Linked DNA regions of Homo sapiens: all the other regions are linked to region 4. Evidence: promoter capture Hi-C in 16 types of primary human blood cells and fetal thymus (Javierre and others, 2016). All regions are on one chromosome and are shown on one strand. The core of a region is centred on a gene start or on the middle of the fragment in contact, and the rest is flanking DNA. Distances in the headings are between cores, read along the strand shown. Region 1 overlaps DGKI (diacylglycerol kinase iota). Region 2 overlaps DGKI (diacylglycerol kinase iota). Region 3 overlaps DGKI (diacylglycerol kinase iota). Region 4 holds the start of DGKI (diacylglycerol kinase iota). Region 5 overlaps DGKI (diacylglycerol kinase iota). Region 6 overlaps DGKI (diacylglycerol kinase iota). Region 7 overlaps DGKI (diacylglycerol kinase iota).

Region 1 (3,291 bases), core at 574-3,073, 190 kb before region 4:
TTCATTGCAGGCTTTTGTTTCACTGATTAGGGAGTGCAATTTTGGGCCTGGAGCTTAACTGTCCAGAATAACACAGGAGGGTTCTTGCCTGAACTGTGCTTGCTGTCTCTGCTAAATAAAATGTGAACAAATAAGTGCTGTCTCCTCTTGTCATACCTCTGCTTCCCACTAACACATCAGTAACAACTCTTCATTCTAACTTCCTCTTTACCTGTTTATCTTCACGACCAGACTGGAGGGTCAGGGACTGAGAACTGAATATAGTTCTAGCTTATGATGTATTTATTTTTTACTTAACAAATGAAAACACTGAGATTTAGAGAGCTTAGGTGAGACGCCCAAGATCACACACATCAAGGCTGGTTTTGAAAGCAGACCGTCTGACTCCAGGGCTCATAGGAATAACCAGTTACTGTGCTGCCCCATGAATGGCTTATACCCACTCAAAATTGAAAAATGCACTTAAAATCAACCAGAACACATGGCAACAGAGCGACACTCTGTCTCCAAATAAATAAGTAATAAAAGTCTATTTCTTTCTTACCCCTTCAATTCTATCACTACCACCTTCCTCTAGTCTCTGGTTCATTTGGTAAGACCTTAAACTCCCCAGTACATTTTATGAGAATAAAGTCCAGTGTGCACATGTTGAAAAGACTTGAAGATTTTATTGATTGTGCTTATTGATGTGTTAACAAAAAATTGGCATGCAACAGAAAGAGATAGAATTTATTTTTTATTCCCTGGTGAATATCTATGAATCCACTGAATCAATGAGAAATCAAAGGTGATACTTGAAATCAAGCTCTGAAATACTCACTTCTCTTGGTGACCTTGAGCCTCCTTCTCGAAATGTTGGTTTACATCTGAAATTAATCTGTCATTCAAAAAGAAAAGTATATTATATTAGAGATAAGCATCAGACTAGACTGAATTACCTGAAAAAAAAAAAAACAGTGACAGATATTGAGACTGAAAAGCAAAACCTCCAAAGAACAAGGAATAATACTCTTCTTAGTCTTTTGAAATCATCACATTAGATAATCAACAGAGATCCCAGGTGATTCTATATCTCCAACCCCTTTCCTTCATTCTCACAAATCAAATCTAAGTATCTTTAAACGATAATGCTCTTACACCATAAATTTGAGAAACTGAGATAAGAAAGAGCCAGAGGAAAGATACTGGCAGCTTAAACTACCCAGCTGGGTTTCTGATTGTAAAAGTAGAAAATATAAACTTGAGTTTTTTTAGTATTATGACAATTATTCAAAGACAACAGAGTTATTCTTTTTTTTTTTTTTTGAGATGGAGTCTCATTCTGTCACCCAGTCTGGAGTGCAGTGGTGTGATCTCAGCTCACTGCAACCTCCGCCTCCTGGATTCAAGCAATTCTCCTGCCTCAGCCTCCCGAGTAGCTGGGACTACAGGTGCGTGCCACCACATCTGGCTAATTTTTTGTATTTTTAGTAGAGACGGGGTTTCACCGTGTTAGCCAGGATGGTCTCCATCTCCTGACCTCGTGATCCACCCATCTTGGCCTCCCAAAGTGCTGGGATTACAGGCATGAGCCACCACACCCAGCCCAGAGTTATTCTTTATAAAAGGATTCAGCACTGCTTTTCTTTTAGATGTGGAGGTCTCCTAGTAGGCACATTGACATTTCGGTTAGCTACTCGATAAAGTGAAAGGAGCAAAAGAATGAAGGCAGAGATGAGTAAGTGAAGTTGGGGCAGAAAAGAAAATATTAAGATAACATGTTGGTAGTCATTGCCACAAGATATCAGCTAGGATCAACTGGTCATGTCAGTGAAACTACATGAATGTCATGGGGGACTAAAATATTTCAATGCATTTACCCATGACAGCTCAAGAACATAGATAATACACAGAGAAACACACACATTAAAATGTAGTGGGAAGTGTGAAAGGAAAGAGGATGGCAGGCAACTCACTATTGGAGCCTTTCCCATCCCCTAAATGACAAATAAATGGACTTTGCCGAATCCACTGATTCTGGAGGCACACCACCACCGGGATGTCACTTCCAGCCCCACCCACACATTTGAGCAGCAACAGGAGGAGCACTGCCCCAGCAGAGTGAGAGCCGGCTTCCAGCGTGGCTCGCTCCCTTGCAGGCACTTTAGGAAGACGTAAACCACACAAGTCAGATATATGTGAACAACAATTATAAACAGCTTATAGAACTTCTTCCTTCTTAAACAGCTTGTGGAACAGCCTATGGGTGGATAGTAATGCTTGAACTGAGATGATATAATAAGAGAATCAGTGCACACCAGGCTTTTCCATCTAACTGTGTTCTTCCTTTTCCCAAGAGTCAACGTAAAATGATATCAAATTACACTTCAGCAAACAAGAGAGTGAACGACCCTTAAACATTGTCTTTCCATTAGTAATCTGGTAATAATGTTGGACTTCCAGCTTTTTTTTAAGGGCATTGTTTTCAAAAAGTTGGAACTGGAAATTTACACCGGGCCTCTGAAGACCAAATACTTGCAATGTAACAAAACTGCAGCAGGGGGCGCGCTCTTACCTTTTCTAGCTGCTCAATGCAGGCGGTGTGGACGACGATTTTACAGACTGCACACTTCCTCCTGAGAGCTGATTTCTACAATATTCAATTCAAAAGACAAAAAAGAAATGTTAACAGTCTGTTCTGAAGAGTTCCCTAGTATTAAAGTGGGCATATATAATAAATACATAAATACAGCAAACATTGTAATTATTTCTATTACAAAGCAAATTTAAAACTTCATCTTAAATATTGAATAAACTGACAAACTTTATCAACAGTCTCTGCACTCACCAAGTAGCTCCACATCTGCATGATTTAGGGTGGGCTAGATTGTCTCTTCAAATAATAATAATAATAGCTCCAATATTTTGAGCATATAACAAGAACTGGCTCTTTGTTCTGTCATTTCTAAGTTTCAGAACCTTACAATATAGGCATTATTCTCTTCCATTTTAAAATATTTTCTACATTATCACTCAAGTAGCTAAGGGGCAAGACCAACATCCAAACTCAGATCTAAGTTGAAAACAGGCATTCTTTCCCTATTGCCAAAGAGTCTAGATTTCCAGGGGCCAGTCATTTTAGGCTTCTATCCCAGGCATGAGTCTAGACTAAGTTACTTCGGTTTCTGCCCAAATCTTCCAGAAGTAAAGGAAGGCAAGTTCAGCTTTTACGCCCAGGAAACAATAATAAGAATAGCAACAAAAGCAGGAAACGCTGCTAATAGGAATATAGTATTTGCTATCTGTTCTTAT
Region 2 (3,342 bases), core at 439-2,938, 150 kb before region 4:
TTTTTTTTTTTTAAGCCTCTTGTATTCCTATACAGGAAGTCCCAGATATAGGGGGTAGGTCTTCAGTAGTTAGAAGCGATCACATCGAGCTTGCTGGTAGCCTACTTTCAAAAGCTCCCACTGGGTAACAGACAATTTACTTGCTTTATATAATCCCCGAAAGGGTCATTATGAAGATGGAGGCCTTTAATGATGACACAATATTCTCGTTCCTCACTTTCACCAAGGCAAATAATTAGCAACATCAATTTTGGCCCCTCACCCCAAAGCATATTCCATATCATCGAGCAATAAGAAAGTAACAGTGGAAGAATCTTATACAGTGATCTTTCATCTCAAAACAGTTTTCCTCCACCTATGTTGAAGGAACTTCTTTAGCATTTTTATTAGGATTTTCTCTGGCTTTGAAGGGCTCTGTATGGGGACTCTGAGCTACAGTTTTCCTCATAAGAAAATCAGATCTCTGAAGAGTCAGAATACACAGGTTCTACATTTGATTCCTTAACAGTCACCACAACCTAAATTAAGTGTCCTTACAAAAAATACCAAACCACACCCAAGTGCAAACTCTTAGAATGGCTGAAGAATTTCTAAATCTTGGTTTAATGAGAAAAACACAGATCTTTCATTTTTTCATTAACTGTCCCAGACAGTTTTGATACAAAAAAATTTTTTTAAGAGAGGAAACAAAACGCTACTGTCAGGCACCAGTAGAAACCACAGGGCAAATGAGTTTAACTCATCAGAACTTGTAGACTCTGACCGCCAAAACCCGGTTACTCTTCCTAATTAGGACTGCCAGGAGGAGCCAATTGCTGAAATAATCAAATTAGGATTCAAGGATGCAAGCCACGTGTGTCTATGAAAGATAATGTGGCTATATGATAAAGAGACATACAAACATTTAACCCTGAAAGAAATTACAGTCAAATCACACTCTTTTCTAGCCTGGGAATAGAAACAAGTAAGGCCTTTTTGTTGATCACTTATTTCTCTTTGTGGATACAAATTTAAGGTTGGTTTTATGTCTACACACATAAACATTAATTAGGAGAAAAAAATAAGTAAAAAACATGAAAGTGGCTGCCAGTTTGTAACTCTAATTGCCCTCACAAAAGGACATACAAATAGAAAAAATATATTTAGGTACAACAGGGTGTACGAAATAACTTCTGATTAGAACTTTCCATTCTTTTAAATAACCATGGGAGAAAATCCTTTTCTCCAATAATTCATACATGCATACACATTTTCTTCCAAAATAAGAAAATAGTTTTATTATATCTCAGACCTCAAATATAAGTTAGCGAAAGTTATTTTTCTATTTGAATTTATCTTGCTGGTAGATGACGAATTTAAGAGTCTAGTAGAACTTGGTGTGTGGTTGGGAGTGGGATGAGGGGGCAGTAGTTTTATGCTGCAATTTGCTCCTATTAAAAAAAAATCAATGGGGTTTCAACTTGTTCTTTCCTTCTGCTCAGAATCCTCTCAAGCCCACGGTCAGCAAAACCATGAAATGCCAATGATTCTTTCTATTAATTTCACAACAACGCTTCATAGGAGATGGCTATAATCACAAATGCTTCTTTGAAAAGAACTGTGATATTAACTGTGAAATAGATATGAAAAGAAAATATCCTATAATGCAGTTTCAATAATACAACATCACAGTTAATATCAATTACCTGAAAGACCTCTAATATATTTAAAATATAAAAGCCATTATACATTTTAAGTAGCATCATATTATTTTCTTCACTTCATTCAATAAGACTATAAACTCCTAAAGGACAGGGCTCAATCCATCTACTAATCTTAATTACATTCCAGCCCTGGGGTAGACACAGTCTATATTCAAGAAATGCTTTCTGAGTTAATGAATGAACTTGACCAAGAAGCTAAGAAAAACAGCTTGCTGATTAGATCAAGGGTTGAGAAATCTGATTAGGATGATTTGAATTATATCCCATGCCTTACATTTCAGTGATATTCTTGCCTGAGAGAGTCAGAAATCCTTCATAGCAGCTCTTTAAAAATAAATGCAAATAAGGTAGAATCCAGTGTTAAGAAGCCTAAGAAACATCAAAACGGCTTTGTGTGGTCAACATTAAAATGGAATCCCTTTGCCACATTCGTAAAGGGCATATGATAGTGTTAATATTTTTACAATGTGTTTAATGAAACATGTGGCATATACTCTTCATAAATAGAAATTTAAAAATTTATGGAAGGCCGGGCACGGTGGCTCACGCCTGTAATCCCAGCACTTTGGGAGGCCGAGGCGGGCAGATCACAAGGTCAGGAGATTGAGACCATCCTGGCTAACACGGTGAAACCCCATCTCTACTAAAAATACAAAAAATTAGCCGGGCGAGGTGGCGGGCGCCTGTAGTCCCAGCTACTTAGGAGGCTGAGGAAAGAGAATGGCATGAACCCCAGGGGGCGGAGCCTGCAGTGAGCGGAGATCGTGCCACTGCACTCCAGCCTGGGCGACAGCGAGACTCCGTCTCAAAAAAAAAAAAAAAAAATTTATGGAAAACATGCAAATAAGCCAGAGATACCCTTTTCTAATTACCCACTTTGCAAATTTCTCTCAATTTCCTCTGGTTCCAGTTTCAGTCTGATTGTAGGTTTATGTGGCTCCCGTTTTCTATCTATCCTCATCTTGCCAGCTCCCTCTCTGGGTGATGCTGCACGTGAGAACAGAATCAGGATTCTTCTTGCAGAGCAGAAAAGCACCAGAGAATCAGGAAGTCTCTTACCCAGAACACCTCCTAAAGATTGACACATTAGAGACTGGTGAACTCATCCTGTTGTTCTAGAAAAGGAACCAGCTGTCTAAGAAGTTACTCAGTGTCTTGGTTTGATTCCCCAAGAGAGTTCTTAATCACCTAGTGTGTTGTTGTCTTTTTTCTTATACCATATGGGCACTAACTTTGCTTGTCTTCAAAGCAGCTCACAGTGCTTTTTGGCTGACTTAGACAAGCTGCCTACAATGTAAAGGATAGTCCACGCAATAAAAAAATTGTCCCAAGCCCCGCACAAACTTCACCTCTGATTTATGTCAGGGAACAAACTGTGCGTAATTATTTGAGCCTAAATCCTACTTCATATTATATATGAACTCAAAGTACTTTTTGATTATTTTAATGTACATTGAAATGTTGAAAGATGTAATTACTATTGAACCAAAGGTTGTGTTTTGTTTCCTAAGAAACTCATCCCATTGAGTCACTCAAAAAATCACTTTTGGTATTGAATCTTCAACATAATATACAACTATTATTCTACGTTTGTTACCTTCACAGTGATTCTCCAACATTGGTACTCAACCTTTGCCTA
Region 3 (3,232 bases), core at 650-3,149, 210 kb before region 4:
AAAGCTGCTATATTAGGTACAGCTGAAAAGCCCATCAGCTGACTATGATCTGCCAGAGGCCCAAAGGACACTCCATTTACCAAAGCAATAAGAAATGTGCTGGTGAGAAGAGCACCAACATTGTTGGGAAGTTCAGAGGTGGCTCTCCCTCGTAGGTTAGACCTGATGCTAGGAAACACCTTACAGATTGGGCACTCTGACAGTAACTGGAATATAGAATTCTAAAATAATAGCACTAAACCATCAAAACAAAGTGGGTGCACTTACTGTAAGATTGAAGTTGCAAGGGGACTTGACCTAGAGAGCTATGGAAATGGTTAACATAGCATGACATCCCTACAAGAAAGATGGATTATCGGATAAAAGAGACATTCCTCAATTAATAGAATCAGAAGACATCAAGAATGGATGATCAAGAGAGATGAGGGCAGATGTTGCAATAAAAAGTCATAATCTTTTGCTCTGTTTCTCGACCTAAGCTAGTTTTCAAAGACAGAATCCATTGATTGAAGGAGAGGGTAAGTCCCCAGGAGAAGAATCTTACAATAACACAGCAAGAGTCTATGGTAACACTTTTCTGGTCTTTAACTAAAAGGACCTACATCCATTAACTTGGGTAGTTGTATGCTGAGGAGAGAGAGAAATGTCCAAATATTCTAAAGACTAATGGACAACTGTACAAGTTGACATGTATACCCTGGGTATGAAGCAGCACCAGGTATCTAATGGTCCCCTATTAAAATAAAGATACAGGCCGGGCATGGTGGCTCACACCTGTAATCCCAGCATTTTGGGAGGCCAAGGCGGGCAGATCACGAGGTCAGGAGATCGAGACCATCCTGGCCAACATGGTGAAACCCCGTCTCCACTAAAAATACAAAAAAATTAGCTGGGCGTGGTGGCACACGCCTGTAGTCCCAGCTACTCAGGAGGCTGAGGCAGGAGAATTGCTTGAACCCAGGGAGCAGAGGCTGTAGTGAGCCGAGATCATGCCACTGAACTCCAGCCTGGGTGACAAAACAAGACTCTGTCTCAAATAAATAAACAAACAAACAAACAAACAAACAAACGTGAGGCCCAGTTAAACAAAAAAAAAGCAGGAGTCTAACCAGGGGCAGTGGCTCATGCCTGTAATCCCAGCACTTTGGGAGGCCGAGGTGGGCAGATCACCTGAGGCCGGGTGTTCAAGACCAGACTGACCAACATGGAGAAACCCTGTCGCTACTAAAAATACAAAATTACTCGGGCGTGGTGACGCATGCCCATAATCCCAGCTACTTGGGCCACTGAGGCAGGAGAATTGCTTGAACCCAGGAGGCGGAGGTTGTGGTGAGCTGAGATTGCGCCATTGCACTCCAGCCTGGGCAACAAGAGCGAAACTCGTTCTCAAAAAAAAAAAAAAAAAAAAAGCAGGAGTCCTAGACCAGGGCTGGTTTTCAGAGAGTCTACTGGTTCCACAAATCCATCAGTATTAATTTCCTTTGTCCTCAATTGTGTAAGTGGAGTGAACAGACTTGGAAACTGGCACAACCCCAAGACTGGTTTCTTGGTCTGTTGTGTAAGAGGAAGCCCAAGTGAAAGCTTCAAACCATCCTTCTAGCCATAACTAAATCAAAATCAATGTCACATTCTTAAGAAGTAATAGGCATTAAATTTATCTTAATTTTGAAAGCTCTGACGATGGTATTGTGTTTACATTTCCAAAATTATCTAAGTGCCACCCTTAAAGACTAAAGGAAGCAGGAGGCAGAGGTGGTGTACTCCAACATATCCCCATTTAATTCACCAGCTGAGATCCCATAAAACCAAAGACTGGAGAATGGTGCCTGAATATCACAAATTTAACCCAGTACACTCTATTTGCAGCCACTGTGCCAAATTTAGAATATTTCAGCCTTAAGTACATGACATTTGGCAAATGAATTTTTTCCATCCCTCTCTGAAAGGAGAATTCAAAACTATTTGCAAGTGCTTTCAGGGTTAACAGTACATTTTTACAGGCATGTACCAGGGCTTTCAACTCTTCTGAATGTTATCCAGATCTAATGCAAAGGAACCCGAACTGTGTGAACATTCTGTAGAACATCATTTGGTCCACCATATCAGCAGCATCACATTAAAGCAGATGAGCAAGAAGTGGAAGGTACATCAGAGGTCCTGGTGAGAAGAAAGGTGGGACATAAGCCCTATGAAGAGTCAGGGGTCCCCCATGTCAATGAAGCTTCTAGGGGTCAGTAGTCCAAGGTATGCTAGAATATCCTCTCCAATCTAAAGAAAAAATTATTGCATTTCATAATTTAAACCACTAAGAATGAAACACAGCACTTTATTTGGCCTTTCTGGGTTCTGGAGGCAGCACATTCTACATTTAGGAATGTGATCCATTTATTGGATGACATTAAATGCTGCCAGCTTAGAATGGGGCCCAGAGCATGAAACAGTGCTGCAGCAGGTCCAGCCTGCAATGAAAGAATCCCTGTCACTCCATGTGATTAGAAATTTAGAGAAGGAGAAAAGATGCCCTGTGATGCTTATAACAAGCACCAATAGGAAAATCAACACAGACTCTAGGATTCTGAAACAAGGTTGTGCTATCTGCAAGAGGGAACTATACACCTTTCAAAAATATTTTCTGGCAGGTTACTGTACTCTGGTGGAGAAATACCTGTCCATGAATCATCAGGTGTCATGAGCTGAGTTCTGTCAGATCACTACATCATAAGGTTGAGTGAGCCCAGCCTTAATCCATTGTTATAGTAAGTGGGACCATCTGAGATCTGGAACAAGCAGTACCAGGGATGCATGAGTAGGTGGCTCAGATCACCCACATTATCCACTATTATTACAGTACCAGGTCTCTCATTCAACTCACCTCTGGAAAAATGGGAGTACTGAATGACGAGCTCAAAGAGGAGGAAAATGCTGAGATTGGTTCATGCATGGATCAACTTGGTATATACGTCCAGGCCAAAAGTAAACTACTGCTGCACTGAAGCCTACTCAGGAGTGGGTCCTAGAGACAGGAATAATAAGAAATCCTCCTCATGGGCATAACTTCAGGTGAAGCAAATTGTCATCCCATTTATGTGAAAAGATAGGTGGCTTGACATAGAATATATAATGATGCACAGGCAGTGATAAATGGCAAGGCTGGTTGGCCAGGGCCCTGGAGGGAAACAGGAGGTCTAGGGAAGAGGTATAAGGAAGGACATATGAAAGTAAGTACAAAGAG
Region 4 (3,053 bases), core at 125-2,624:
GCCTGCGGAAGGGAGGGGTGAGAGAGACCTTAATAAATCCTAATTCCTCGTTGTTGGATTCTAATACAATGTGGGGTTATCTTTTATCCTAATTTAAAGGCCATTGATCCCACACTGTCCTTGTCTTACACATACACTCATCCTTAGGTGCAAATATGGTCCCCACTCTCACCTTCACCCCTAGCTTGCCAGCGGGCTCCCCACACCCTCCTCCAGCCAGGAGAGAGGCAAGGAGCACGCAGGCATGGAGCCCCCATAACCAGTGGCGCATCTACAGACATAAACCCACTCTTCCTTCATGGGGGATTTCGAGGCAGGTCCAACTTCCATAAGGATTTCTCTTCAGTGTAGTGCTATTCTTTTCTGCCTGTCGGAGTGATCTCAGCTGTCAAGTTAGTGCCAAAGGTTCATCCAGCGAAATCTGGAAGGTGGGGGAAGGGTGGTTGAAGATGACACCTGCTTAGGGGCAACTTTGACGACTTCTCTTAAGAAAACTAAGCATCACTGAGTCTGCAACCCTTTCTCTCTCTCTCTTTCTCTCTCTCTCTCTCTCTCTCTCTCTCACACACACACACACACACACACACACACACACACACACACAGACAAAATTTCTGTTGCTCTGACCTTAGGGACCCAGTGCTTCTCTCCTGCCACAGGGGAAAGCAGGCGTTGCTGCCCTCCAGCCTGGAATGATAGGATGGGGAGAAGACAGACATCCCCGGGAGGAGAGGGGGAAAGGGGGAAGGAGAGGCGTGGAAACAGAGAGGTGCCCAACTCCGCGGAAGCGCCCCTTGCTGGGTAGAAGAGTGGGTCTCCCGCCGCGGCGCACCTGTCTCGGCTGCCGGCTCCCCGCACCTACCTGTACGAGACCTGCTTCCGGAAAGTTAAGTTCCTCAGCTTCTCCTCCAGCGCTTCGTCCTTCTCCTTCTGGCCGGCGGCCGCGGGCTCGTCCAGGGCAGCGGCCCCCGCCGCCGCGGCTGACCCTGCGCCCCGCGGGTCCGCGCCGCCCTCGGCGCCCAGGCAGCAGCTCCCGGCGCCGCTTCCGCTGCTGCTGCTGCCGCCCGTCGCCCCTTTCTCCTCTCCCGCCGAGGAGCTGGGGTTCATGGCGCCCGCTCCGGCGGCCGCGGAGGGAGCGCAGGCGGCGCCGCTGCAGGGGCCGGGCGGGCTGGCGGCGGCGGCGGCGGCGGCTGCAGGAGCGCGGGCAGGTCCGCGCGCCGCTGGCAGGGGCAGCAAATGGCAGCCCCTTCCCGCAGCATCCATCCGCGGCTGCACCGCACCGGGGCATTGTGGGAAACTCCGCTCACTCCCCCGCCCCGGCCAATCAGAGGCCGCCGCTCCCCGCCTCCCGCGCCCTCCCGCGCCGGCCCGCACCCTCCAGCCCCGCCGGCCTCTTCCTAAATCCCGAGCGAAAGCCCAAGCTGAACATGAACTCTGCCCGGAGGCGACGGGCTGCGGCGGAGGGGGAGAGAGAGGAGGACAGGCTGCGACCCCGGGCTGGGGACGCCAGGGCAGGGACAGCGAGCATCAGGAAGGAGAGCGTCCGGGGAACTCGAGTGGCCGCGCCCTGGGTCCTGCACCGTGAGGCTGGGGGGACCAGGACCGGCGGGCGCCCACCTTGGTCCTGAGCCCAGCTGCCGACGCTGGGCCAGCACCCTCTCCACCGCCGCCCTCCAGTGAGCAGAGCTGGGCTCAGGCAGCAGCCCCTGGGCGCGGGAAGGTAGCGGGAGCTGCATTTAGGGGAGGGGGGAGGTAGCAGGAGCTCCGCCAGTGGGAACCTTGGAGTGAATTCGTCGGCGGGTGCCAAGTCGAAGCGCCGACCTCCTGTCTCTGGACTGGGGCCCGGACCCCTGCGTCCCCAAACTGCGTCCCCGCCTTGCTCGTCGCCCGGTGCCTTCCTTAGGCGCAGCAGACCCTCGGTAAACAGCGGTTAATTCGATGGAATCGGATCACAGGGCCCTCGGTGAAGCAGAAAGGCGGAGGAAATCCAGGAGGCAGAAGTGAGGACCCTGGCGCCTGGCGCCGCTGCGTTGTTCGTATAAGAAGAGGCATCCCGGAAGGGGCTTCAAACCACTTAGGACCGACTGCTGAAACGAATCCAAGCTTGTGGTGTCTGCAGAATTTAACTGTCCGCCTCAACCCCAGTTTTTGTTTCTAAGATTATCGAAAACTGTGCGGTTTGAGTGATGTGCTACAAAGTGTTTAAAACAGATTGTTTCCCAAATTAGGGGTTTCCACACAAGAAATCGCTGCTGTCGGCAAACACAGGAACTATCTATGGTTAAGACAAGGTGGTGTTCGTAACCAAACTATAAACCTACATATACGAGGTGGTAAGAGAACCAGACCAATGAACAGTTTCAGGCTGGCGTGGTGTGCCCGTGAACAAAGAATTGTAATACTGGCAAAAATCTAAATTGCTTTCTTTCCCTTTATTTTCTCATCACTAAAATTAGGAAAATGAACAGATATGTCAAATCTCTTCTAACACCCATGTTCTGTAACTCTCCTCGTATGTACCTTATAATAAGACAAAGGTAAAGACATTTCCATGTGCAGCGAGGAAAAGTAATAATAAAAATTAAAACAACTAGCAAGTATGAAGCCCTCTTTTTATACGGTATGTGCTGTATAAGCACTTCCCTCATCCACCTCTATGTTTTCACAGCACCTCTCAAGGGCTTGGACACGTGCAAATGCAAACTGGCAAAGCCAGGAGTCAAGCCAGGCTGCTCAGTGGCCTTTGTGCTTCACCCCAGTTTAATGCACCCGTCTTCAGAAGGGACATCGTGTATTAGGTGCTTCAACACAAGATCCACGAATATCTCGTACATCCCTAAAATCAAGCAAATGTCATCTGAACCCAATTACTGGGACAGCCCCCTCATTACTCCCACTTACTTTTAGCCGTATCTTCCCCAATCCAATCTCAAGTGTGAGCCCCAAAATACTTCTGATTTTTCACGCCTCCACTTAAAAATCTTTTGATTATGTCATATTGCCGTTAGGGTAAAGTTCAAACAACTCAGCTGATTTTGAGGGCTACATTGGTG
Region 5 (3,098 bases), core at 213-2,712, 130 kb before region 4:
ACCACTTTAAACTAAACAGACTGACAAAAATTTTAAAGTGTGACAATATTACCTCTTGGCAAGATATAGAGCTTACATACTGTCACAAGGAGGACAACATGGTTCATCACTATGGAAAACAGCTTGCTGTTCTATAGGAATATTGAAGGTGCACATAAACACAGGAATTATACTCCAGGATATGCACCCTAGATAATCTCTGGTATATACACACAAGATGATAGTTAAAATATCATATCAGCACTATTTATTACAGAAAAATATAAAGGCAACTCAAATGTCAGATGAAAGCAGAACAGATAAATACATTGCAATATAGTCATACAATGAAATAATACTCTTTACAAATGAAAATAAATGAACTACAGTTGCATAGAACAAAACATATGAAACTCAAGAACACAGTGGTGACTAAAAGTGTTAATTGCAGATTGCACACAGTAGTATTTCATTTACATAACATTTTAAATGCAAATAGAGCTATACTATGTATTCTTGACAGGGGGCATGGAACAGAGGGGAAGAGCACAGAATTTGCAGTCAGACTGCCTGAACTGGAATTCGGGTTAATCTCTATATATCTTGATTTCCTCATCCGTAAAATGGGGATACCAACTTTTTTTTTTTTTTTTTTTTTTTTTTTTAAGACGGAGTCTCGCTCTGTCACCTGGCTGGAGTGCAGTGGTGCAATCTCGGCTCACTGCAACCTACGCCTCCTGGGTTTAAGCGATTCTCCTGCCTCAGCCTCCCGAGTAGCTGGGATTACAGGCGCCCACCAACACACCCAGCTAGTTTTTGTATTTTTAGTAGAGACGGGGTTTCACCACGTTGGCCAGGATGGTCTCAATCTCTTGATCTCGTGATCCGCCCACCTCTGCCTCCCAAAGTGCTGGGGATTACAGGCGTGAGCCACCATGCCTGGCTGGGGATACCTGCTTCTGAGGATTGCTTTTGAGTTAAATGAATGTATGGCATTTAAGTGCTTGGCACATAGAAATCACTATATGAAAGTTTTATGCTGCTATCATTAGTAAAGATACAAATATTTGGTTAAATGTTAATAAAAAGCAAGGGAACAATAAGTGAAAAATTTAAGCTTATTGGGGATGCTCAGGAATAGATTAAGGAAAATAAGCAACAGACTTCAGAGGTTATTACGATGGTACCCTTTGTTATTAAAATGGGTAGGGAATACTCAGATATTTGTTGGGTTATTACCCTTTATAATTTCCAAATATTTTGTTGTATCCTACTATATATTCTCTTCTCAATAAAAATATTTTAACCAAGCATCAGATTTATTCTAATTATACATTTAGAACATTTCATGTTTTGTGTTCTAATCAAAATTGAAAGTGTGCCATATTAACAACAAATTCTAGTAATGATCTCAAGAATGTGCAATAATAAAAATATTTTAAGCATTATAAAATTAGGAATAGAAAGATATGTAAGCCTTTACACAGTCAAATTGCTGCTGTCCAAAGCTGTCACCCTAGAAAATACACACTACATCTCTCCCAATAGCAAATGGTATTTAACTGAGATTCCAGTATCTTGTTTAAAGCATTGAAGATTCCTCTTTTGGAAATGCCTCCTGAACCTGCAGGCACTCTTTGGAAGATTCTGAATGTTAATAGTCGTCATATTTTGAGGATAGATTTCATTTTATTCCAACAGCAACAAGTTATTTGAAACTAAGTTTGATGGATGAGATAGGTGAGTTAGCTGTATGATAGACAATTGAGATGATGATATGTTTCATAAAACAGTTTCTCCAAGTAATTCCAAAGAATAATAGACTTTCAGGGTTAGCAAATAATCAAATTCAAGCTTCCTCGCCACTTAGCAACTTGTTCTGCGAAGAATCCTGAAAAATGGTCAGCCAGCTTCAGCTTGGAATTTCTAAGTAACAAAGATCTAGACAAAACACCCTAGAGCACAAGTGGTGAAAGGCTAATTGCCACAGTTTCTAAACTTATAATCTTTATATTAGTTGATATGGGACCATCGTTCCAGTCTATGGATATCTAAATCTGATTTCTATCACCATGTGTCTCAGCTGTCTTTCCCAGAGGAGAATAAGAGCAAGTTGATAAGTTGATAAGCATTCATGTATGATTCACCTGTCATTGATAAACATAGCAACCAGCACAGAACCAACTGCAGGACCCCTGCTCAAATAGATACCTGGCTCCAGCTTGGAATTAATTTATAATATTCACATAGGGTGGAGTAGGGTGGGATGTAACATTTGTGATTTGGCCTAATTTTAGCCTATCTATATGTTTCTACCTTAACCACAGGGAAATCACAAAATATTATCAGATACATTGCTGAAATTTAGACACAAGTTGTCTATGGAATTTTCCAAAGCTATCACTATAATAACCCCATCCAATAAATGAAATGAGACACATAATACACATTTATTTTTAAGGAACTCATGCTAGCTCTTTATGACCACTATTTTCTTTTCTAATTCTACATAAAACATCTGTTTAATTACTGTTAGGATAATTTTGTAGAGGTTGCCATTAACTTATTAAGCTGTAAGTTAACCTACCCAATTTTTTTTAATTTTTATTTTAGAGACAGGGTCTCTTTTTGTCACTCAAGCTGGAGTGCAGTGGTGCAATCATAGCTCACTGCAGCCTCAAATTCCTAGGCTCAAGCAATGCTCCCACCTCGGTGCCTCAAGTAGCTAGGACTACAGGCATACATCACCATCTCTGACTTATCTATTTATTTGTAGATATGGGATCTCACTATGTTGCCCAGGTTGGTCTCAAACTCCTGGCCTCAACTTATCCTCCCACCTCAGCCTCCCAAAGCACTGAGATTATAAGGCATGAGCCACTGTGCCTGGCCACTTGCCCAATTTTGAATGGGGATATTTTCTTACCACCAATTTTTCAGAAACTCTCCCATTTCTACTATTTCTCAGACATTATTGACCCATAGTCCTATGACCAAATTTATAGGATCTCTTACTATCTGTGGTATAATTTATTTGAATGTAGAAAACTTCACTCTTCAAAGAAAGTAGTTTTTTTAATAGATTCTTTCTGATTTTGGATTATTTGCTATTATCAATA
Region 6 (3,242 bases), core at 23-2,522, 230 kb before region 4:
TAACCAGCAAAGGTACATGAAGCAGTTAGCTGGGTATTCATCCCACCATGAGCACTTCAGTAAATGTTAGCTCATTCTAAATAATGCCTCATTCTCAGCTGTGTGTCCCCAACACCGAGCACAAATTCCTGGCACATAGTGTACACTCGAATCATTGTTGAAATAATGAACAAATATTCCTATAATTCACAGCATTTACTGAGCCTCTCCTGATTTGGGAAAGGATCCTTGGGAAGTGAATGCTTGCCTCCTAACTTTTTTGTAGTTTTAATTCATTTACTGCCAAGAGCAATGCCAGACACCAAGTGCTTGCAGGAACATGCTATGGACCTAGGTCCTTGACAGGATGTCAGCAATTAAACTCCATGAGACAGATCTAACGCATCAGGCTAAGATTGTTTCCTAAACTTGTCTGATCGTAGAACTCACAGTATTTCAGGTGATTTTGATGATCAAGCACGTATGGGGAGCACAGAGTTAGAAAAACACATTAAAGTAAGGCTTGATGTCTGAAAACAGAGCAGGCAAAGAACTCAATTCTTATAGGGAACAGACACACAAAACGGGCTTTTTTTTTTTTTTTTTTTTTGTAACACAGAGGTAGCAAATACAAGTGCTTCTAGCCTCACCAAACCAAATGCATCTGAGGCCTTCTTCACTTCACAGAACAAGAACAGGGCAGAGACCAAGCACAGTCGTTGACTTACAGTACCTGGACGCATCTATGTGAGCTCTGAGTAAGCTTACAGCCCTACGGATAGTCAAACACAAAAGATAAATAGTAGGAATTTCACAGCATACCTCAAAATCCCATGGCTCCCTTCTATTTTTGTATAAATACATATCTCTATTTTGTATAAATATGTATCTATCTCTACCTCTAGGAACAGATGGGTTTGAAGGCAGATTTTGTATATGTTTTGACCATGATGAAATAAATCACCTACTCTTGATAATCTACAGGATCGCTTATCCTGCCTGGGTCAGTGTTGTTGAGAGAGTTAAACAAAAGAGCACGCTTTTCGAGAATGTTAAAATTATGTCAAGAAGTTACTGTGTAGAATTTGTTGGTGATATATGCAAGAAACCTGTAACACTTGTGCTATGTTCCAAAACAAATCATCTCTATTATATCAAGGGCAGCTAACTCGGTGATAAAAGCATTCGCTTTGCAAGATCAACACTAAAAACACAGTGAAATGCTGTATGTACCCTCACTTGGATTTTTGCATTCTTCTGATTCCAACAGCAGTCGCCCCCTAGACATTCTGTGCCTGCTCTTTTGTTAAAGACCTAAATAAAAAGGCTTTTTGTTTTCCTGTACTTCATACCAGGATAATTGTACCTTGCCACAGAAATAATCCTATCAATAAAATCCTGATCATGCTTATGACTCCTTGCTGGGCTATTAAGAAATAGTTACGGGTAAATCACTCAACTGTGACTGAAACTTAACTACCTCTTATTAATCTTCAGGGATTTTTCCAGGTTATAAGATCACAAATGACTGGTTATAATAACAGATCCCAAGAGAAGAGATCTGTTCGCTCTTCTTTGTCATCCCAAATAAAGTCTCCCCCCCATCATATACTGGACAAAACTCTGGTAGACAGTAGGAGAGAGAGTAATGGACTTAGTCTATTAAAGCGCATTCTTACTCTGCTGGGCTCCCATTGTGCCAGGGAACAAAGGCTGCTCTGAGGATGGGAAGGCAGAAGGATAAAGAAAACTTATTCCAAAAGTTACAGACAGGGTCCCAACAGCTCCAACCAGGCCTATTTGACTAAATCACAAGTACTAATGAAGCTTTAGAATTCACCAAAGGAAATGGTTCAGGCAATTTTGAGGCTAATTTACAGGATATTATTGGTCGTTGCACAAAATTAGCTATTACATTTCATGGGTTCCCAGTATTTTAAGAAGATTATCTAACCAGAAGAGATAAACCAAAAAAAGGGGGACTATTATGAAGAAAGCTCATACAGGGCTATGAAGAAATGAATGCAGCATTGTTTATAAGTAGAACATTAGAAACAATATAAATATCCACCAGTAGGCAGATGGATCAATAAACTAGGATATATCCACAGCATGGGATACATACAGCAATTTAAAAAATGAGTTAAGTCTACATATAATAACAGACTTTTCCCCAAGAATCTTTTTTTACTAAGAAAGGCAAGTTTTAAAGCATTATGTGAAGAATTATTTATTAAAAACACACACCCTTACACTCGAAGTGGTTCTGTATTTCTTCTGTGGGTGCATTTCCATGCATGTAAACGCACAGTAAAAACTCTGCATATATCATAGGAAGAGACAGCGGAGATGCTTATCATTTTAAATGCTGGTGAAAGGAGACTCTCTTATCTGAGATGTTTAATTTTTACAGGGAGCATATTTATATATTACTCATGTTACTACAAACGAAACAATAAAAGATTGAGCACTATCATTCTTTCAAAGAAACCAGCTTGTTCCCACTCAGTACTATGAAGTCACAACAGGCTGTATTAAGGAAAGAGAATGGAGGATCCATTTTATATTCTTTTTAGAAGATAGGAGCAGCCCAGTGAGATTCATGAGAAAGTTACAAAAAAGTGACAGTTTGGAAAATTTAGGGGACCAAGTACAAAATATTTTTTCAAATGATGTCATCTCATGATACATAAGTTTTGTAAAAGCTTTCCCAACTGTGGTCTTCTACAACTTGACCCCACAGAAAATTCACGTAAGTCTCAATCCCTCAGCTCCAAGTATATGCACTGGTATTTGACCATCTTTAACTTGCCTGTCCAATCAAAATATTGTCTAGTAATATTTTCAGTCCGAAAGAGAAACACTGACATTTGTAACTTTAAATATAACTTGGACTTCAAATATATCAACAGATCCAGGCTTGATTCTTAAATTTGGGGTTTTCATTTGAGTTATTTAAAATCATCTATCTTCCATTACCTTTTTATTTCTACAAAATAACTTCTTCATCTCTCTAAATAATGAGGTGATGAAACCTAGCAAATTACCCAAGCAGCCCTCACTCCCTTTAGCATCAAGGTTTCACAGAGCTGCCAATTCCACAGTTGCTCGTGGAGTAAAAATGAAATATGCGGTTTAATTCCAACTCTTTATAAACCATGTCTCCTGACCATGATACCCTCAAATAGATTTCCTTTACTCCTCCTCTCTAGAGTCACTTGTTTAGACACAAATATCCCAAATAAAGCTGACTTTATTTAAAG
Region 7 (3,131 bases), core at 353-2,852, 170 kb before region 4:
GGTCTATCTCAGTAGCAATACTTTAAATCAGGAAACTGAGGCAAAAAAAGGCAAAGTGATATGTCCCAACTTTACTCAGTACATAAATGGAACAGCAGGTTTTCAAACCCAGGTCAGTCCACACAAAGTCTATTTCCTTCTGACCACCCATGCTACCCATCTGTGCCTATTCAGGTCTGTGTGACCACGGTGGGTGTATAATTTGCATATCAATGTAGGCAAGTTTCTTTCAAGTCTGAGTAGGTGCACGATGGTATGGACTCCAGGGATTACTACTGGAGGGGTGAGCTCCTTTAGGTACAAATATTTGGCTAAACATGTTTGTATAGCCTAGCCCCAGAGCATGAGAACAGTTTCTATCTGGCTGTGCCCGCTAAACGGTGAGGCACTGGGTACTCAACCCAGCTCACAAACACTGACAGAATAAATGAATGAATAAATGAATAAATGTACATAAAAATAAATGTCACCAAACGACAGTGATTCTGGCTGGAATTTTATTTCAGGTTTCCAGTGCCCATAATCAGGTTGGGAAACAGTGATCTTTCTACTTCAATTTCATTACTTTTGCATCCTTTTATATTTTATCTAGACCAGAAAAAGAAACAGTTGCTAATTTGGGAACTGTTGCCAATTTGGGAACAAATTTAATTCCATTACGTATCTGCTCACAGGTATTCTACAGTATTAAATGTTGCCACCAGAGAGCTGTAGAACAGGAAAAGGTCACGTGGTTTAGTTTTAGCCCTGAAGCTTGGGAACAAACTCTCCTACAGCTGTTCTAGGGTTTTGGAAGTCATTGCCTGGCTTTCAGTACCCTCCAATATCAGTCCCCAAATATCAATCCACATGGCAGCAGGAGGTCCCGGCTTTGCAGGACAGTTTTAGTTTTACATAGATGCCCTAATGTCCCATAAGCTAGGGTGATGCAGTTCTGGTTTATCCCTAATGTTACGGCATCATTATTAACAGCAGCCACTTTCACCCTCAAAAGTGTCTTGGTTTAGACAATGTATTCTATAGTCATGCTTCCTAAGCCCACCAGTATTTACAATATGCACTCCAAGTTTTGTTTCAAAAAACCTAACTCCATTCTTACTTCCATTTTTCTCTGACACATGCTCATGCACGGCTCATGATTGCCACCTCGTTTGTACAGAGCTTGCCCCACCTCTGAGTCTGCTCATGTTCCTCTTCCCTGCCCGAAATGTTCTCCTTCTTCAAAATCACTTATGTAAATCTTACCCATCTTTCAAAACTGAGCTCGAACCCCATTTCCATGAAGCTGCCTCTGTCTGCTTCAACCCACACTGACTTCTTCCTTCTCTTAACTTCTACTTGTGACATTTGCTTTGCTAAAATAGGGAAGGAGTGAAAGGCACATCGTAGATGATGGATTCACTCCTCCCCTGAGCACTCTGCCTGTACTTTGTTTAGGAGCCTGCAGGTAGTACCTGGTTATGGTAATTTAGTCCCAGCCCCAACAGGTAGGCTTTCTTCAAAGGTGGTTCATTAAAAGAAATTAGAATATAAATACATGATCTGCTTATGCATACTTTTTTCCCAAAAAAGACTGTTGTTCTAAGAAAACTGCAAACAGAGCATTTAAACTAAAGACTCGCCTGGAGATCTCTGTGACCTCTTGCCCAAAGCAGCTGAGAGTCCCCAACTACAGCATCCTTGAAACATGGCCACCCACGTTATCCACAAACACACATCCCACCAGTCAATCTCTCCAGGCACCTTGTTCGCTTGCTGGGAAGCTCAGGCTGACAAAGTTCTTTCTTATCATACGGTATTTCTCAAAGTTAGGTTTGCGACCCATCTGCATCAGAATTATTTGAGGTGCTCGTTAAAATCACAGACTCCCAGCCAGGTGTGGTAGCTCATGCCTGTAATCCCAGCAATTTGGGAGGCCGAGGCGGGTGGATCCCCTGAGGTCAGGAGTTTGAGACCAGCCTGGTCAACCTGGTGAAACCCCGTCTCTACTAAAAATACAAAAATCAGCTGGGTGTGGTGACTTGCACCTGTAACCCCAGCTACTCAGGAGGCTGAGGCAGGAGAATTTCTTGAACCCGGGAGGCGGAGGTTGCAGTGAGCCGAGATCACACCACTGCACTCCAGCCTGGGCAGCCGAGCAAGACTACATCCAAAAAAAAAAAAAAAAAAAAAAAATCGGAGACTCTCAAGTCCAACTCCAAGCATACTGAATCAGCATTTGGAGCAAAGAGGGAAACAGGAGTGTGCATTGTTAGGTTTCCCAGGTAATGTTTGTTTATTGTTATAAAGTTAGAGTCAGTGGATTCTACCTCTATGACTTTTCCATTTCTAACAACAGATAGCAAGTCACTTCTCTTTTCTTCAAATTAACTCTTCAAATACTGGAAGACATCTCTCTGCCTTCGCTCCTAATACTCAGCTGTAGCCCATGTAACCTAACATTTCTTTACAACAAGCTTCCATCCCCTAAACCAACTTGGGCACCCCACTCTGGGTCCTCTGCTGCTTGCCAATGTCTCTCTCAAAATGGGATGCCCAGAGATGACATGCGCCTCACAGTGCGAGGTGGGGAGAGAGACTGAGAGGATTTTCAGTGCTTTCAGTACACACTGCCAATTTTGTGAAGGACAGTGTATCTACTTACACTCCTGGCAGCTGATGATGAGCCTGCCCATTTCAGCCTAAACCAACCAGCAGCAACTATTACCATTTTATAAATCTTTGCTAATTTAATAGGCACATGAAGTTGACTCCTGAGTTGTTTTAATTGGGATGCCTTTGTATTCTTCAGATATCTATTGGCAATTGGTAGTTCTTTTGTAAATTTCCTGTCCTTGTCCTTCCTGGGTTTTTTCTTTTTTTTCTTTTTTTGCCTTTAATTCATTAGGTCAGTTGCTGAGCCAAGTAAGCCCTTTCTATGTATCATCTCACCAAACCCTCAAAACAGTGTTTCCCCCACTTTATAGGTAAAGAAACTGAGCTTCAAGAAACTTACAGCAGTTAGGTCTTCAGCTTCCTCACTGATTTATTCCTTCATTTAACCAACATTTTTTTGGAGGAGAGTTCTTCATCTTTCAGACGTTTTGTAATATGAGTTAATAGGGCCAAGTACCTGGTATGAAATTATGAGG

What was found. The method cuts DNA at HindIII sites, captures the fragments that hold promoters and counts their contacts. A CHiCAGO score of 5 or more calls a contact.
Region 1: a contact is called between a fragment that was not itself captured here and the fragment with the promoter of DGKI in region 4, in 5 of 17 cell types (M1 macrophages, M2 macrophages, M0 macrophages and 2 more). The highest score is 13.9, in M1 macrophages.
Region 2: a contact is called between a fragment that was not itself captured here and the fragment with the promoter of DGKI in region 4, in 3 of 17 cell types (M2 macrophages, M0 macrophages and M1 macrophages). The highest score is 6.2, in M2 macrophages.
Region 3: a contact is called between a fragment that was not itself captured here and the fragment with the promoter of DGKI in region 4, in 3 of 17 cell types (M0 macrophages, M2 macrophages and M1 macrophages). The highest score is 8.1, in M0 macrophages.
Region 5: a fragment that was not itself captured here is called in contact with the fragment with the promoter of DGKI in region 4 in 3 of 17 cell types (M0 macrophages, M1 macrophages and M2 macrophages); the score reaches 5.5 in M0 macrophages.
Region 6: a contact is called between a fragment that was not itself captured here and the fragment with the promoter of DGKI in region 4, in 1 of 17 cell types (M1 macrophages). The highest score is 5.4, in M1 macrophages.
Region 7: a contact is called between a fragment that was not itself captured here and the fragment with the promoter of DGKI in region 4, in 2 of 17 cell types (M0 macrophages and M1 macrophages). The highest score is 7.6, in M0 macrophages.

The regions. Positions count from the first base shown.
Region 1 is chr7:137,653,912-137,657,202 of GRCh38, forward strand. It overlaps DGKI (diacylglycerol kinase iota), which reads right to left. Exons shown (of 33, transcript NM_001321708.2): 4 at 2,555-2,629; 5 at 821-877. Among named protein-coding and RNA genes, the nearest start is that of DGKI, 190 kb to the right of the region's middle. The HindIII fragment of the contact is 7,371 bases long and covers 1-3,291 here.
Region 2 is chr7:137,691,810-137,695,151 of GRCh38, forward strand. All of the region lies in intron 1 of DGKI (diacylglycerol kinase iota), which reads right to left. Among named protein-coding and RNA genes, the nearest start is that of DGKI, 150 kb to the right of the region's middle. The HindIII fragment of the contact is 3,834 bases long and covers 1-3,342 here.
Region 3 is chr7:137,631,825-137,635,056 of GRCh38, forward strand. The region is part of intron 6 of DGKI (diacylglycerol kinase iota); the gene reads right to left. Among named protein-coding and RNA genes, the nearest start is that of DGKI, 210 kb to the right of the region's middle. The HindIII fragment of the contact is 640 bases long and covers 1,580-2,219 here.
Region 4 is chr7:137,845,600-137,848,652 of GRCh38, forward strand. DGKI (diacylglycerol kinase iota) reads right to left here and starts at 1,375. Exons shown (of 33, transcript NM_001321708.2): 1 at 863-1,375. The coding sequence starts at 1,263. RefSeq lists an enhancer at 214-715 and silencers at 1,350-1,399, 1,884-2,178. The HindIII fragment of the contact is 3,155 bases long and covers 1-2,101 here.
Region 5 is chr7:137,711,069-137,714,166 of GRCh38, forward strand. The region is part of intron 1 of DGKI (diacylglycerol kinase iota); the gene reads right to left. Among named protein-coding and RNA genes, the nearest start is that of DGKI, 130 kb to the right of the region's middle. The HindIII fragment of the contact is 737 bases long and covers 1,095-1,831 here.
Region 6 is chr7:137,611,654-137,614,895 of GRCh38, forward strand. All of the region lies in intron 8 of DGKI (diacylglycerol kinase iota), which reads right to left. Among named protein-coding and RNA genes, the nearest start is that of DGKI, 230 kb to the right of the region's middle. The HindIII fragment of the contact is 1,064 bases long and covers 741-1,804 here.
Region 7 is chr7:137,673,533-137,676,663 of GRCh38, forward strand. The region is part of intron 3 of DGKI (diacylglycerol kinase iota); the gene reads right to left. Among named protein-coding and RNA genes, the nearest start is that of DGKI, 170 kb to the right of the region's middle. The HindIII fragment of the contact is 1,703 bases long and covers 752-2,454 here.